Regions from separate parts of the Homo sapiens genome. Here all the other regions are linked to region 2. The links are contacts of gene promoters, found by promoter capture Hi-C in human tissues and cell types (Jung and others, 2019). All regions are on one chromosome and are shown on one strand. The core of a region is centred on a gene start or on the middle of the fragment in contact, and the rest is flanking DNA. Distances in the headings are between cores, read along the strand shown. Region 1 overlaps SAMD4B (sterile alpha motif domain containing 4B). Region 2 holds the start of FBXO27 (F-box protein 27). Region 3 overlaps RYR1 (ryanodine receptor 1). Region 4 overlaps SAMD4B (sterile alpha motif domain containing 4B). Region 5 holds the start of ACTN4 (actinin alpha 4).

What was found. Contacts are between HindIII fragments. The study calls those that stand out against the background at their distance.
Region 1: a contact is called between a fragment that was not itself captured here and the fragment with the promoter of FBXO27 in region 2, in 1 of the 25 tissues and cell types used here (psoas muscle).
Region 3: a contact is called between a fragment that was not itself captured here and the fragment with the promoter of FBXO27 in region 2, in 1 of the 25 tissues and cell types used here (pancreas).
Region 4: a fragment that was not itself captured here is called in contact with the fragment with the promoter of FBXO27 in region 2 in 3 of the 25 tissues and cell types used here (aorta, dorsolateral prefrontal cortex and heart left ventricle).
Region 5: a contact is called between the fragment with the promoter of ACTN4 here and the fragment with the promoter of FBXO27 in region 2, in 1 of the 25 tissues and cell types used here (dorsolateral prefrontal cortex).

Annotation. Positions count from the first base shown.
Region 1 is chr19:39,381,850-39,384,549 of GRCh38, reverse strand. It overlaps SAMD4B (sterile alpha motif domain containing 4B), which reads right to left. Exons shown (of 14, transcript NM_001384574.2): 13 at 1,259-1,342; 14 at 1-1,051. The coding sequence ends at 1,023. Among named protein-coding and RNA genes, the nearest start is that of PAF1, 7.9 kb to the left of the region's middle. The HindIII fragment of the contact is 9,011 bases long and covers 1-2,700 here.
Region 2 is chr19:39,031,139-39,033,838 of GRCh38, reverse strand. It overlaps FBXO27 (F-box protein 27), which reads left to right and starts at 1,290. Exons shown (of 6, transcript NM_178820.5): 1 at 1,290-1,336; 2 at 1,586-1,975; 3 at 2,519-2,630. The coding sequence starts at 1,612. RefSeq lists silencers at 1,512-1,581, 1,642-1,791, 1,992-2,071, 2,222-2,461, 2,311-2,493 and enhancers at 1,403-2,195, 2,602-2,700. The HindIII fragment of the contact is 13,585 bases long and covers 1-2,700 here.
Region 3 is chr19:38,581,828-38,584,527 of GRCh38, reverse strand. The region is part of intron 101 of RYR1 (ryanodine receptor 1); the gene reads right to left. Among named protein-coding and RNA genes, the nearest start is that of MAP4K1-AS1, 13 kb to the left of the region's middle. RefSeq lists an enhancer at 370-619. The HindIII fragment of the contact is 5,920 bases long and covers 1-2,700 here.
Region 4 is chr19:39,350,460-39,353,159 of GRCh38, reverse strand. All of the region lies in intron 1 of SAMD4B (sterile alpha motif domain containing 4B), which reads right to left. Among named protein-coding and RNA genes, the nearest start is that of SAMD4B, 9.4 kb to the right of the region's middle. The HindIII fragment of the contact is 6,332 bases long and covers 1-2,700 here.
Region 5 is chr19:38,646,268-38,648,967 of GRCh38, reverse strand. ACTN4 (actinin alpha 4) reads right to left here and starts at 1,319. Exons shown (of 21, transcript NM_004924.6): 1 at 1,061-1,319. The coding sequence starts at 1,222. RefSeq lists silencers at 980-1,059, 1,290-1,479. The HindIII fragment of the contact is 19,413 bases long and covers 1-2,700 here.

The sequences.
Region 1 (2,700 bases), core at 174-2,673, 350 kb before region 2:
AAGGAAAAAGGCTGAAAGAAAAGGGAGGGGCTTAGGGAAAAACCCAAAAACCAAACAATCCCCTTTCCCTTATTCCTGACTCCCAAGTCTCACCAACCAGACCTGGGAGCGGAGAAGGGTGTGTGTTCGTGGGGAAGGGGACGTTAAGGCAACAGACTTCCTGACCTCACTGGCTACCCTGGCTGCCCACCTCCAACCTCTTCATCCGGGTAGCCAGGGCTGGAGGAAAATGGGTTAGAGCTTGAGGGTCTGGAGGAGGGGGCTCTGCCCTCTCCCCTCATAAAGTTCAGGCTCTCCCTGCCACTGTCTTGGCTGAGAGAGACCTGGGGATTCTAAAAATGAGAGGAAATGATCAGAGAAAAACCGTTAAGAACTATATAAATATGTATCTTAAATAGGCCTAAGAAATTAATCATAGAGAACCTCTGGTGAACAGGGCCAGGGGAGGTGAGAGAGAGGAAGGTGGCTCCTGTCCTTGCAGAATGTGGGGAATGGTGAAGGGGAAGCAGGGAGAGGAGAGAGAGCTTCCTCTCCTTGCTCCCCTTCCTTCTCCCCAGCTCCTCTCAATAACATTCTGGAGGGCAGGTTCTCTGCCCTGCGCGTCACCCCAAATGTCAAATGTTTCTGAGCAGGCTCCACAAGGTAGTGGTCAGTTTGTCTCTGGGGAGTCTGCTCCCTTGGGGAGAGGCAGGTGGTCAGCGGTCTGGAGGAGGCAGGGGTGGGATGGGACCAGGTGGGGATGAGGAAGGAAAGGAGAGAGGCAGGCAGTCTGGCCAGTCCCTGCCCCCTTTATCCTGGCTGCCCCCAACTCCCCGGGCCTCAGCAGAGATCCCTCGACGGGCCTGGGAGTGAGCAAGGCATGTGCCAATGTTAAACAAAAGTTAAGAGGGTAAGAGAGTAGAAAAATATTAGAATATATAGCTGAGCCAGCCCACCCTCTCGCTGTCGCGGAGAAGCCCGTTGGGGGTTGGCCCCCGCCCGCCGCCCAGGGAGCCTATGGGTGCGCTGGGCTGTGGGTCCCGTCAGATGGTGGAGGTTTTGTCTGTCCCATCTGTGGTAAGAAAGGGAGGAAGGGAGGAAGATCAGGAGCTGGAGGGAGGCCCAAGAAAAGGCACTCAGGTAGCCTGTCATCCCAGTCAGGCCCTCCCTGGAGTCTGGCCTCCCCTGGGGACCCCTCAGGATGACTCTGAGTTGCTCAGTTCAGAGGCAGAGACGCTGGGTAGGTGGGAGCTGGGTCAGGGAAAGAGGAAATGCTCACCACCCAAGGCGTGTTCTGTCATGCTCAGACACAGAGACTCCAGAGTGGGATTGATCTCCAGGTCAGGCCCAGGAACCGGGCAGTCTGGGTGGGAGAGAGGAGAATGGGGGTGGTAAGGACCAACTGGACTCAGGTGAAGACAGCTGGGATGACAAAGGATGCTGGTATGGGAAGGGAGCAAGAGAGATGGAGGGGGAGAGGGAAGAACGGGAGGAGGTGGACAGGGAGAGAGGCGAGCGTGTCACACAACAGGCAGAGGAGACAATGGCAATGGCAGAGGCTTGGCAATACAGAAAAAGCCCGACTTGCAGAGAGTGGAATTGAAACTGAAGGAGCTCCTGGAGGCCACACACAGCCTGCTGTGACTACTCTGGACACAGACTGCATACTGTCTTGAGCACAGTCTGGGCATCTGCCCTGGACACTGGGCAGCCCCCAAGGCTCCCTGATTGAAGACCTGCTCTGTACTTGGTGCAAAAGCTAAATCAAAACCCTTCCTGTCCCCACTTGGACCTGCTCCTCTGGGCAGGATTCAATCCAGGCAGGCCAGGCAGGTGGGGGCAAAGTAGGACAACCACCATGGGACTTGTCCTCAAACCACACTTCTCAAAAGGGCCTCCTATTCGGGCATCTGGGAAACCACCCACCTCCCTGGGCAGACCTGACCTCCCTCACTACACTGCTTAAACCCTTCCCTGACTCCTCACTGCCATCAGGACAAAGTCCGAGCTGTTTACCTGGATTTAGACGACCCAGCTCCCATCTCCACCCTCATCTCTCATCACTGTTCCCTCTGAACCCTGAGCTCATGTCGTATCAGATCACCCAATTGTCTCTCCTTAAAAAAAAGAATTTTTTTTTTGAACTTGGGCAAGACCTGTCTCAGATTGCTGACTGATGAATAACATCAGCGTCCTTACACATACAGTTGGGAGGAGTCAATCAGTGCAGGAGAGCTGTCTGACAAAGCCTGGGACACAGCATGCTGGTAAAGAGAATGGTTCTTGTTCATTCCTGCGGTTCATCCACCTGCTTGTTTAACATCATTTACAGATGCCTACTGTGTGTCAAGCCCTGTGCTAGGATGAACATGATGGATGGGTTCCCACGGCCTCAACAGATGGCTGTCTACACAACCTCATCAAGTAAGACTCCTGACTGACTTGGCAGTTTATGACATGAATTCTGCAAATCCATGCTCTCTCTAGAGTCAGCCCATTCCAGACGAGCCTTATCTGTCTCTGCAGCCCCAGTGGCCAGCACCGTGTGGAGGAGTCAACCCCTCACTTGTTGAGCAGGGCAGGGACCTGCGGTTAGCAAGTCTCTAATCTTCCTTTTGCCCACTTGTCCCAACATCTTTTTGAGATGGGGTCTCACTGTCGCCCTGGCTGCAGTGCAGTGGCACAATCTCTGCTCACTACAGCCTTGACCTCCTGGGCTCA
Region 2 (2,700 bases), core at 41-2,540:
TCAAAGAACAAAGAGGTTAGAGGTTTTTATAAGAAACAGAAATGTTAGGTATTGTTTTGCAAGAAAGTTCATTGACACTAGCAACGTTCTGGGGAGCTGGCAAGTTCTGACTGGTAAGTGACAGCAGAGGGAAAAACTAGTCTTAGAGTCACGGCAGGTTTTTTCAGTACCAGTTAGACTGCTTCCAGGTTACAACAGGCAGTTTTAACAGCCAGGCTTGCAGAGAATCACTTTCTTGGAGCAATGGTATCTGCCCTAAGTGTTTTCCCCCCGGCCTCTCAACTTTGTTTTAGTTGGATATGACAAGAAGGATCCAATTCACATGATCAACTTTCACAATTTTTTTTTTCTGTTTGTTTTTTGAGACGGAGTCTCACTCACTCTTTTGCACAGGCTGGAGTGCAGTGGTGCAATCTCTGCTCACTGCAACCTCCCCCTCCCGGATTCAAGCAATTCTCCTGCCTAAGCCTCCAAATTAGCTGGGATTACAGGCGCGTGCTACCACGCCCAGCTAATTTTTGTATTTTTAGTAGAGACGGGGTTTCACCATGTTGGCCAGGCTGGTCTCGAACTTCTGACCTCAAGCGATCCGCCTGCCTTGGCCTCCCAAAGTGCTGGGATTACGGGCATGAGTCACCGCACCCAGCCACAATTGTATTTTTATTGGACAGAGCTGATCTAGAGGTTAAAATGAGGAATTCCGGAGCTAGGCTGGCTGGATTCAAATCCCTACTAGCTGGTGATCATAGACAAGCCACTTGGCCTCTGCTGGTCTCAGTTTTTTCACCTGTGAAGTAAAGGGCATAACAGCACCTACTTCATGGGGTTGCCACCCTGGCTGGCAGTAAAACCGTCCATAAAAGTTGGCTGGTGTTACTATTGGTTGCATTAATTTTTAGCAGCCGGAGCCTGTTTTCTCCTGTGAAATGAAGATAACCACGCCCGACCTTAAAGGTGATGGAAATTTTTTAACACGTTAACGGATACGAGGCCTCCCACTCAGAAGCCTGACCAAAATAACAATGGTTGCTCAGAGCCAGACGTCTCATTGCTACTAACGAATTAGGGACACTTCAAGGGGCCGGCTGGAGGGGACGGCTGTGAGCAGCAGGCCTTGGCTCCTGGCTGCACCTGGCCCCGTCGCGGGAAGCAGGTTGGGTTTGGAGAGCGGGAGGGAGCAGGCGGGAGGGGCTGGCGAGTAAGAAAGAGGATGCAGGGGTGGGTGAAGCTGGCTAGTAAGAGGGGAGGGGCCGGCGAGTAAAAAGGACGCAGAGGGGCGTGGGGAGCTTGCGGCACAGCTAGGGCATCCCGGCGAGGAGCGCCGCCAGGCCCCGGGGTAGGACTTGGGGTGCGGTGTCGGTGCGGCCGCCGAGGGGGGCTGATTGCATGCAATTCGGGGCATACACACAGACCGCGGGGTCTCCGGGATATCGGGGCTATCAAGGACGGGCTGGGGGATGGGGACTTGGGGACGGGGCCCAGGGATGGTGAAGACGGGGGTGCGGCTGGCAGAATCAGGGCAGGCAGAGGCTGCGCGCCGCGGAGGCTGCTGGTCCCTGACGCCTTGACCCTTCCTCTCCCGCAGCCACAGCCGGGCCTGGCGGGGGGACCATGGGCGCCTCGGTCTCCAGGGGCCGGGCCGCCCGGGTCCCCGCGCCGGAGCCGGAACCCGAAGAGGCGCTGGACCTGAGCCAACTACCCCCAGAGCTGCTTCTGGTGGTGCTGAGCCACGTCCCCCCGCGCACGCTGCTCGGGCGCTGCCGCCAAGTGTGCCGGGGCTGGCGAGCCCTGGTGGACGGCCAGGCCCTGTGGCTGCTGATCCTGGCCCGCGACCACGGCGCCACCGGCCGCGCGCTGCTGCACCTCGCCCGCAGCTGCCAGTCTCCCGCCCGTAACGCCAGGCCTTGCCCCCTGGGCCGCTTCTGCGCGCGCAGACCCATCGGACGCAACCTTATTCGCAACCCCTGCGGCCAAGGTGGGATCTCGGAAGAGGAAGTCCAGGATGCTGGGCCACAGTGGGAGCGGTAGCGGGGCCGGAGGGGCGGGGCCGCACTGGGACCGGTACTAGGGGCCGCAGGGGCAGGGCCGCAGTGGGACCGGTGGGAGGAGTCGGAGAGGCGGGGCAGCATTGGGAGCCGGTGTGAGGTGCCGGAGGGGCGGGGCAGCATTGGGAGCCGGTGGGAGGTGTCGGAGGGACGAGGCAGCATTGGCACGCAGGGTGCAGGGCTGACTGGGCAGGGCTTCACCGTTTGCCTGTGGGAGGGGTGGGAGTGGGGCAGTTCTGGGAGCCCGAGAGAGGGGTTGGAGGGGCAGGGCTTTGCTGCAAATCAGTGAGAAGGGCCAGAGGAGCGGGGCTTTGCCCTGAGCTGGTGGGAGGGGAAGGGGGCGGGGCCTCGGTGGGAAGGGTCAGGTGAGTGAGCTGCACTGTGAGCACGTGGGAGGGGCTAGGGGCGGGGTCTCACTAGGAACCAACAGGCGGGCGACTGGAACTTGGGCACAAGCCTTTTTTATTTCACAGAAGGCCTCCGAAAGTGGATGGTGCAACACGGTGGGGACGGCTGGGTGGTGGAGGAAAACAGGACAACCGTGCCTGGGGCCCCTTCTCAGACGTGCTTCGTGACTTCATTCAGGTGAATGCCCCTGCTATCCAAAGGTCCGGCCCCTTGTTGAGAAAGGCCTGCCTGTTCTCATTACCCTGTC
Region 3 (2,700 bases), core at 180-2,679, 450 kb after region 2:
AGGGCTAGCATGGGGGGGCACAGGCAGAGGGGTCAGGGCTGGAATGGGGGGTACAGGCAGAAGGGTCAGGGCCAGGTTGGGTGGGGGGCACAGGCAGAGGGGTCAGGGCCAGGATGGAGGGTACAGGCTGAGAGGTTAGGGCCAGGATAGTGGGGCACAGGCAGAGGGGTCAGGGCCGGGATGGATGGGGGGCACAGACGGAGGGATGAGGGCCGGGATGGGTGGGGGGGGGCACAGGTGTAGGGATCAGGGCCAGGATAGGGGGGCACAGGCAGAAGGGTGAGGGCGAGGATGGGAGGGGCACAGGCAGAGGGTCGAGGCTGGGGTGGGGAGGCACAGTGTGACCAGGGATGAGCTAGGGGAAGCACTGGAAGCTTTAACAGCCCGCTGGAGGCATCTGATCCAGCCTAGGTGATCAGGTGAGGCTTCCTGGAAGAGGAGGCAGGTGTGAGCTGAAACCTAAAGGAGGCCTTAGGTGGAGGGGTGGTGGGAGAGTGTTCCCAGCAGAGAAGGCCACATGCTGCCTCGCCATCAGTGAGGAAAGAGTACATCCTGCTGCTGTGAGGAACTGAAAATGGTTGGGTGAGGCTGGAAAATAGAGCTCCTGTGCAGGAGAGCAGGGAGAGATGAGGCAGGGCCTGGGCATGTGGCTCTGTGGGCCCTGGCCCAGCCCGCGGTCAAGGGGCTTCCTGTAGGATGTGGCATTTAAGTGGAAAGGTGAGGTATCAAGTGAATGGGGTGTGTGTGTATGTCAGGCCTGGGGTAGGGGACAGAGAGAACATCAGGTGCAAAGGGCTTGAATTGGGAGAAAACACACAGTCCTAGGGGAACTGAAAGAGGACCAGGCGGCTAGAAAGCAAAAAGCAAGAGGGTTTGCGGTTAGACCCAGGCAGGGCCAGCCCTTCCCAGGCTTTGTAAGCCACGGCAGGGTGATTCGACTTTATCTACAGTGGGCTGGGGAGCCACAAGAAGGGTCTGAGTGGGGGTGGGGAGGGAGCATGGTCTACCTGGCATTTGGGAACAACTTTACATATGTTTTTTTTTTTTTTTGAGACAGAGTCTTGCTCTGTTGCCCAGGCTGGAGTGCTGTGGTGCAATATTGGCTCACTGCGACCTCCACCACCGAGTTCAAGAGATTCTCCTGCCTCAGCCTCCTGAGTAGTCGGGAATACAGGTGCGTGTCACCCCACCCAGCTAATTTTTGTACTTTTTTCTTTTTTTTTTTTTTTTGAGATGGAGTTTTGCTCTTGTTGCCCAGGCTGGAGTGCAATGGCGTGATCTCGGCTCACTGCAACCTCCGCCTCCGGGGTTCAAGAGATTCTCCTGCCTCAGCCTCCCAGGTAGCTGGGATTATAGGCGCCCACCACCACATCCCACTAATTTTTGTATTTTTAGTGGAGACAGGGTTTCACCACGTTGGCCAGACTGGTCTCAAACTCTTGACCTCAGATGATCCACCTGCCTTGGCCTCCCAAAATGCTGGGATTAAAAGCGTGAGCCACAGCGCCCGGCATACACTTGTTCTTTCCGTGTCCCCAGGATGTGAGAGAACACAGTCATCCTAGAGTAAAAACTAAGATAAGTGACTATAATGAGAACGAGGCTGTGGGCAGCGAGGCCGTGTCTGGAAGAGCCTCAGATGTCAGGTTGAGGAGCTGGACTTTGTCCTGAGAGCAGGGAGGAACCCACGGAGCCAGACTGCAGGACATCTTTGGAGATAAACCCCAGAAATGATTCTTTTAATTGTGGATTGTGGCCTGTGTCTCTAGTAAGTTCGCATCAATTTGGGTTATGATCACCATTATTAGAATAGAAGAGAAAATATAAATGTGCATTGAACGCTGGGTATACCTTGGGTGAAACTTTTTTTTAAACTTGACACAGAGTCTCAATGTGTTACCCAGGCTGGAGTGCAGTGGCGCAGTCATAGCACACTGCAACCTCAAACTCCTAAGCTCAAGCAATCCTCTTGCCTCAGCCTCCCACAGTGTTGGGATTACAGGCGTGAGTCACTGCGCCCGGCCTGGGTGAAACTTTTAATTGTGGATAATGATGATAGAAGCTAACATCTATATAATCCTGAGGATGTGCCAGGCACTAGTCTAAGTCTTTTTTTTTTTCCTTTTTTTTGAGACGGAGTTTCACTCTCGTTGCCTAGGCTGGAGTGCAGTGGCGCAATCTCGGCTCATGGCAACCTCCACCTCCCGGGTTCAAGTGATTCTCCTGTCTCAGCCTCCCGAGTAGCTGGGATTACAGGCATGCGCCACCATGCCCAGCTAATTTTGTATTTTTAGTAGATATGGGGTTTCTCCATGTTGGTCAGGCCGGTCTCAAACTCCCAACCTCAGGTAATCTGCCCCCCTCAGCCCCCCAAAGTGCTGGGATTACAGGCATGAGCCACCGTGCAAGGCAATGGTCTAAGTCTTTTAAGTCTTCGATAGCCAGGGAGCACCTATTAGTCCTAAAAGCAACTACTATTACACACTCATTTTACAGGTGAGGCCCCCAGGGCATAGGGAGGAGGTTGAGTAGCCTGCCCCAAAATCACACGGCTCATAAGTGGCAGGGGCACGCTCCCTGAGTACCTTTCCAATAATAATAGTTTGAAAAGCTCAAATAAGGCCGGGTGCAGTTGCTCACATCTGTAATCCCAGCACTTTGGGAGGCCGAGGTGGGTGGATCATTTGAGGTCAGGAGTTC
Region 4 (2,700 bases), core at 15-2,514, 320 kb before region 2:
CTTCCCAGCTCCAGCATTTTGTGGCTTTCAGTCCCAAAGAGGCAGCAGCTGCTTCAACATAAGGAAGAATTTTAAAATAACGCATCTGTCCAAGAATGGAACTGGCTGCCATGTGAGGAGGTAATAAGCTCCCTGGCTGCTGGAAGTGGTCAAGCGGAGGCTGGATGAACATCCCTCGGGAGTGGGAGGGATTCCTTCACTGGGTGGCAACTCATAAGATAGAAGGACATGTTACTATTTCAGAGGGAACATTTGTGACAGGAGGTTTGATATACCAACAGCATTTACAGCAAAAAAACGACCAAATCCACAAACAGACCAAAGTTGTGCACACTCTTTCCCATAAATTCTTTTACTGGGTTGTTACTTTTCCTAAGCAACAGCACTGTTCCCCCCCTCCACCCACCCAATAAGCTGCTGACTAAACATTAATCCAGCTTTTCCCCCCAGGCCAAACGATAGAAGCAAAGCTTTCGGACATAATAGGGTCTCAAACATGATGCTTACAAGGCCAGGCTTTGAACAAAGCAGGCCAACTGGGACTATGGTGAGTTGGAAAGTCCACACCCGGTCAAAAGGGAGAAGTCACTATCCACCTCTTATCAACTGCTACCATGAAGGAATGTGGGTCCAGTATTGTTACGTCTTAGGTTTTTTTTTTTTTTTTTTTCCCCTAAAGAGGAGCCAGATATCTGAATTTTAAAGTAAAATCCCCCCCTATTTTCAAATGTGGGAAACGAATCACATTGAAACAATAGTGAACAACTACACAGAAGAAGACATACCTGTGGTCCTTGGAACAGAAGAGCACAAACTAGAAAAAGACCAGAAGTCTGCTAACTATCCCTCCCTTGGGCCTCTCTGGTTTATACCTTCAAGCCACCCCACTGCTCAGGGAACATGACTGGTGGAGAAGATCTAGTGATGGAGGATGATTCTGACAGTCTTCAGTAAATACTGGAGGCTTTAGTGAAACAGTTACTTTTAAGATTTCACTGTTAAAAAAAAATCATCCCTGAAGGTAGGGTTCCTATGTCTTCTGGATGAGAGAAGGATGCTTTGTGTTCGGTCTAGATGTTAACTGGAGAGGACTGGATGGCCCTCTTCCATTAAAGGGCCAGAGGCCGCCTGCTACTTTCTATCCCATGTGCTTGGCTGAAGTGACAGAGGGAGACCTGGGTGAGGCATCTCACTGTGGCAGCATCTTACTGTATCCATTTCCATCTTCTAGTATCAACACCCTGGGTTCCCCTTGGAGAAGGAACTGTCTTTCTTGGCTCCAGAAGTGGACATGGGGTAAAGCCTGGCCAAGGATAGTCCTCTCTGGATTTTTGCTGGAACTACTAAGGAAAATAAGTTCTTGGTTAGGGTTGCTCAGATTACACATCGTCTCATGATGTCACCAGTTGCCACCTCTTCTATTTCACGGTGGAAGCCTGCTTCAGAATGAAACTAACAGATGACAGCAAAGTCAAGAGATGGGGGAGGGGGAAAGGGAGATCTGTTCACATGATTTAAAACCTAGATGCAGCTAGCCTGAAGCCTCCCCCTTGTGGCCCACTCTTTTCAGTTACATAGATGAATAAATTCGTTTTTGACTTAGGCCAGTTTGAGTTGGGTTTCAGTTAAAACTGAAAGAGCCTTGACAATTCCCATGCAAAACAGAATGCACTACTGGTCTGGTCTCTTTGTCCTCATGTGACCAAAAATGACTCCTTGCCTTTGAGGAAAAACACAAGAGGGGAGCCTCTATAACAGAAGTCTCTCCAACAGCCCAGCAATATTGCCACCATACTTGAAGAGGTCCAAGTGATCTTCTTGGGAAGCCCCTACCACCTCCAGAGGTGGGAAATGAGGTTAACAAAATGGCTAAGAGGGCTGGGTGCAGTGGCTCACGCCTGTAATCCCAGCACTCTGGGAGGCATGGGCGGGTGGATCGCTTGAGCTCAGGAGCTCGAGACCAGCCTGGGCAACACAGTGAAACCCCGTCTCTACAAAAATTACAAAAAAATTAGCCAGGCGTGGTGGCGTGCACCTGTAACCCCAGCTACTTGGGAGACTGAGGCGGGAGAATCACTTGAGCCCGGGAGGCAGAGGTTGCAGTGAGCCAAGATCGTGCCACTGCACTCCAGCCTGGGCAACAGAGTGAGACCCTGTCTCAAAAAACAAAAACAAAACAAAACAAAAGCCAAAGGTTCCAGATCAGCAGCCTGGGCAACATGGCAAAACCGTTTCTACAAAAAATCCAAAAATTAGCTGGGCGTGGTGGTGTGCACCTGCAGTCCCAGCTACTTTGGGAGGATCACTTGAGTTCTGGAGGTCGAGGCTTCAGTGAGCTGAGATCATGCCACTGCACTCCCACCTGGAGAAAGGCTGGGCACGGTGGCTCACGCCTGTAATCCCAGCACTTTGGGGGGCCGAGACGGGCGGATCACCTGAGGTCAGGAGTTCGAGACCAGCCTGGCCAACACGGTGAAACCCTGTCTCTACTAAAAATACAAAAAATCAGCTGGGCGTGGTGGCAGGCGCCTGTAATCCCAGCTACTCAGGAGGCTGAGGCAGCAGAATCGCTTCAACCTGGGAGGTGGAGGTTGCAGTGAGCTGAGATTGCGCCACTGCACTCCAGCCTGGGGGACTGGAGACTTTGTCTCAAAACAAAAACAAAAACAAAAACAAAAAAATGCTGAGATGTTCCAGGAC
Region 5 (2,700 bases), core at 70-2,569, 380 kb after region 2:
TTACGCATTCCCTTTCTAATGAGACTTTCATTTTCCTAAACGAACCTCTCTCCCATTATCCACCATTCCAGCTCACCCTCCCTCCCACCGATCTCACCTTCTCCCTCTACACTTCCTCATTCTCTCCAACGCTTTAGCTTTTCAGCTTCCCATCAATTCTTTAGAAATCCCTCCCCAAATTATCCCCACTCTCCGTATCCCCTCTACTTCGGCTTCTCCATCCCTCATCAATTCCTCTTATTATTCCTCCTATCTCTTAATCTTCTCCCCTTTGGAACAGGGCACCACAAATAAATCTCACCCCCTTCAAAAACGTCTGATTCACGGGCCCCTTAACTTCTTCCTTCCGCACCCCACCCTCCTCAGACCCCCAGTCCTGGCACCTCTACCCTCCTCACACCCTAAGCCCATGTCTTTTCATGCTCAATTCTACCCTTAGCCCCTGTTTTCATCTTCCCAGCCTCCCTAGTCTTCCCACCCGTCTTCAGACCCCACAATCTCCACTCCATCCTCACACTTGATTCTTCATCCCCTTTATAACTCCCCCAACCTGAGGCTCCCCCAATTCCAATCTCCTTCAGATCTTTCTGCTCTCCAAATAACCAACCCCTCCACACTCAAGCTCCTCCTCACACTTCCCAGACCCAGAAATTCCCTTCTCAGCCTCCCCTGATTCTCCTCCCAGCACCCCCAACCCATGCTCCGACCCTTCAAGCCCGCCTCGGATCCCAGTTCCATTTCAGCCTGCCCAGTCATCTCCTCGGTTTCCCCTAATGGCACGCCCAGACCCTCCAAATCCTTCATCAGCCTTCCCGATTCCTTTTATTTGACTCCCATATTCCCCACCCAGCCGCCAATTCTCTTTTCAGATTCCCAATTCCTTCCTCTAGCTCGGCGATTCCTCCTCAGGACTCCAATTCCCTTCCCGGACCCGCCAATTCCTTCTCGGGACCCCCCCGTTCCCATCACAGACGCTCCAGTTACCTTTCAGGACCTCCCACCCCTCCCCGGGCCCCCTCAGAAAAGCCCCTCCAGCCCGTCCGGCCCGCGGGCCGCGCACCTTGCGCTGCTGCTTCTCCCAGGCCGGGTCCAGCAGCAGGTCCCGGTCCCAGTCGTCCTCCTGGGCCATGTAGTCGCCCATGCTGCCCCCGCCGCCAGCGCCATTGCCCGCGCTGCTGGGGCCGTACTGGTACGACTGGTTCGCCGCGTGGTAGTCCACCATTCCGCCGCCTCTCGCTCGCCCACCAGCCTGTCCGCTCCCGCCTCAGCTCCCGCCCCTCTGCCCGAGCCGCCGCCGCTACCGCCGCTTCAGCTGCTTCAGCCCGCCCTCCGCCCGCGCCTGCGCACTGCCCGCCGCGCCTGCGCACAGCGCCGAGGTTGCCGCCCTCCCGCGCGCGCGCGCCTGCCAAACCAGAAAAGGCACCAAGGCCGCGCTCCGGAGCTTGGCGCCTGCGCAGAGTCCCGCTTCCTGGCCGCCCGACTCAGCCCGGGGGCGAGCCGCGCCCCCTCTCCGGCGTGAACGCGCGCGTCGTTCGCGTATGGGCGGGGCCAGATCATGAATGATTCATAAGGGCAGGCCCCGCCATCGGACCTGAACCAGCTCAGGCTTGGAATGCACTGCACCGGGTTCCCATTCAGCGACACAAATTCAACAAATATTTATTGAACACCTATTCTGTGCCAGACTATGTTTTACGCAGGCACTAAAAACAGAAAAAAATCCCAACTTTCATGAAACTACCTTCTAGTAAAGGAAGCCACATACACACAAATCTACTTTTATTTTTATTATTTTTTGAGACGGAGTCTCGCTCTGTCTCCCAGGCTGGAGTGCAGTGGCGCGATCTCGGCTCACTGCAACCTCCGCCTCCCGGATTCAAGCAATTCTCCTGCCTCAGCCTCCCGAGTAGCTGGGAACACAGGCATGCTCCACCACACCCGGCTAATTTTTGTATTTTTTTAGTAGAGACGGGGTTTCACCATGTTGGCCAGGCTGGTCTTGAACTCTTGAGCTCAAGCGATCCTCCCGCCTCAGCCTCCCAAAGTGCTGGAATTACAGGCGTGAGCCACCGCGCCCAACCAACACACAAATTTTTTTTTTTGAGACGGAGTTTCGCTCTTGTTGCCCAGGCTGGAGTGCAATGGCGTGATCTGGGCTCACTGCAACCTCCGCCTCCCAGGTTCAAGCTATTCTCCTGCCTCAGCCTCCCGAGTAGCTGGGATCACAGGCATGTGCCACCACTCCTGGCTAATTTTGTATTTTTAGTAGAGACGGGGTTTCTCCATGTTGGTCAGGCTGGTCTCAAACTCCCGACCTCAGGTGATCCGCCCACCTCGGCCTCCCAAAGTGCTGGGCTTACAGGCATGAGCCACTGCGCCTGGCCTCAACACTCAAAATTTTAAAAAATATGTAGACAGGCACAGGGGCTCACACCTGTAATCCCAGCACTTTGGGAAGCTGAGGCGGGAGGATGGCTTGAGCCCAAGAGTTCAAGGCCAGCCTAGGCAACATAACAAGAACCTGTCTCTACAAGAAATGTAAAAATTCACTGGGCATGGCTGTGTGCACCTGTAGTCCCAGCTACTCAGGAGGCTGAGGAAGGGACATCACTTGAGCCCAGGAGTTCCAGTCTGCAGTGAGCTGTGATCACACCAATGCACTCCAGAAGCGAAATCCTGTCTCAAAAATATACATAAAAG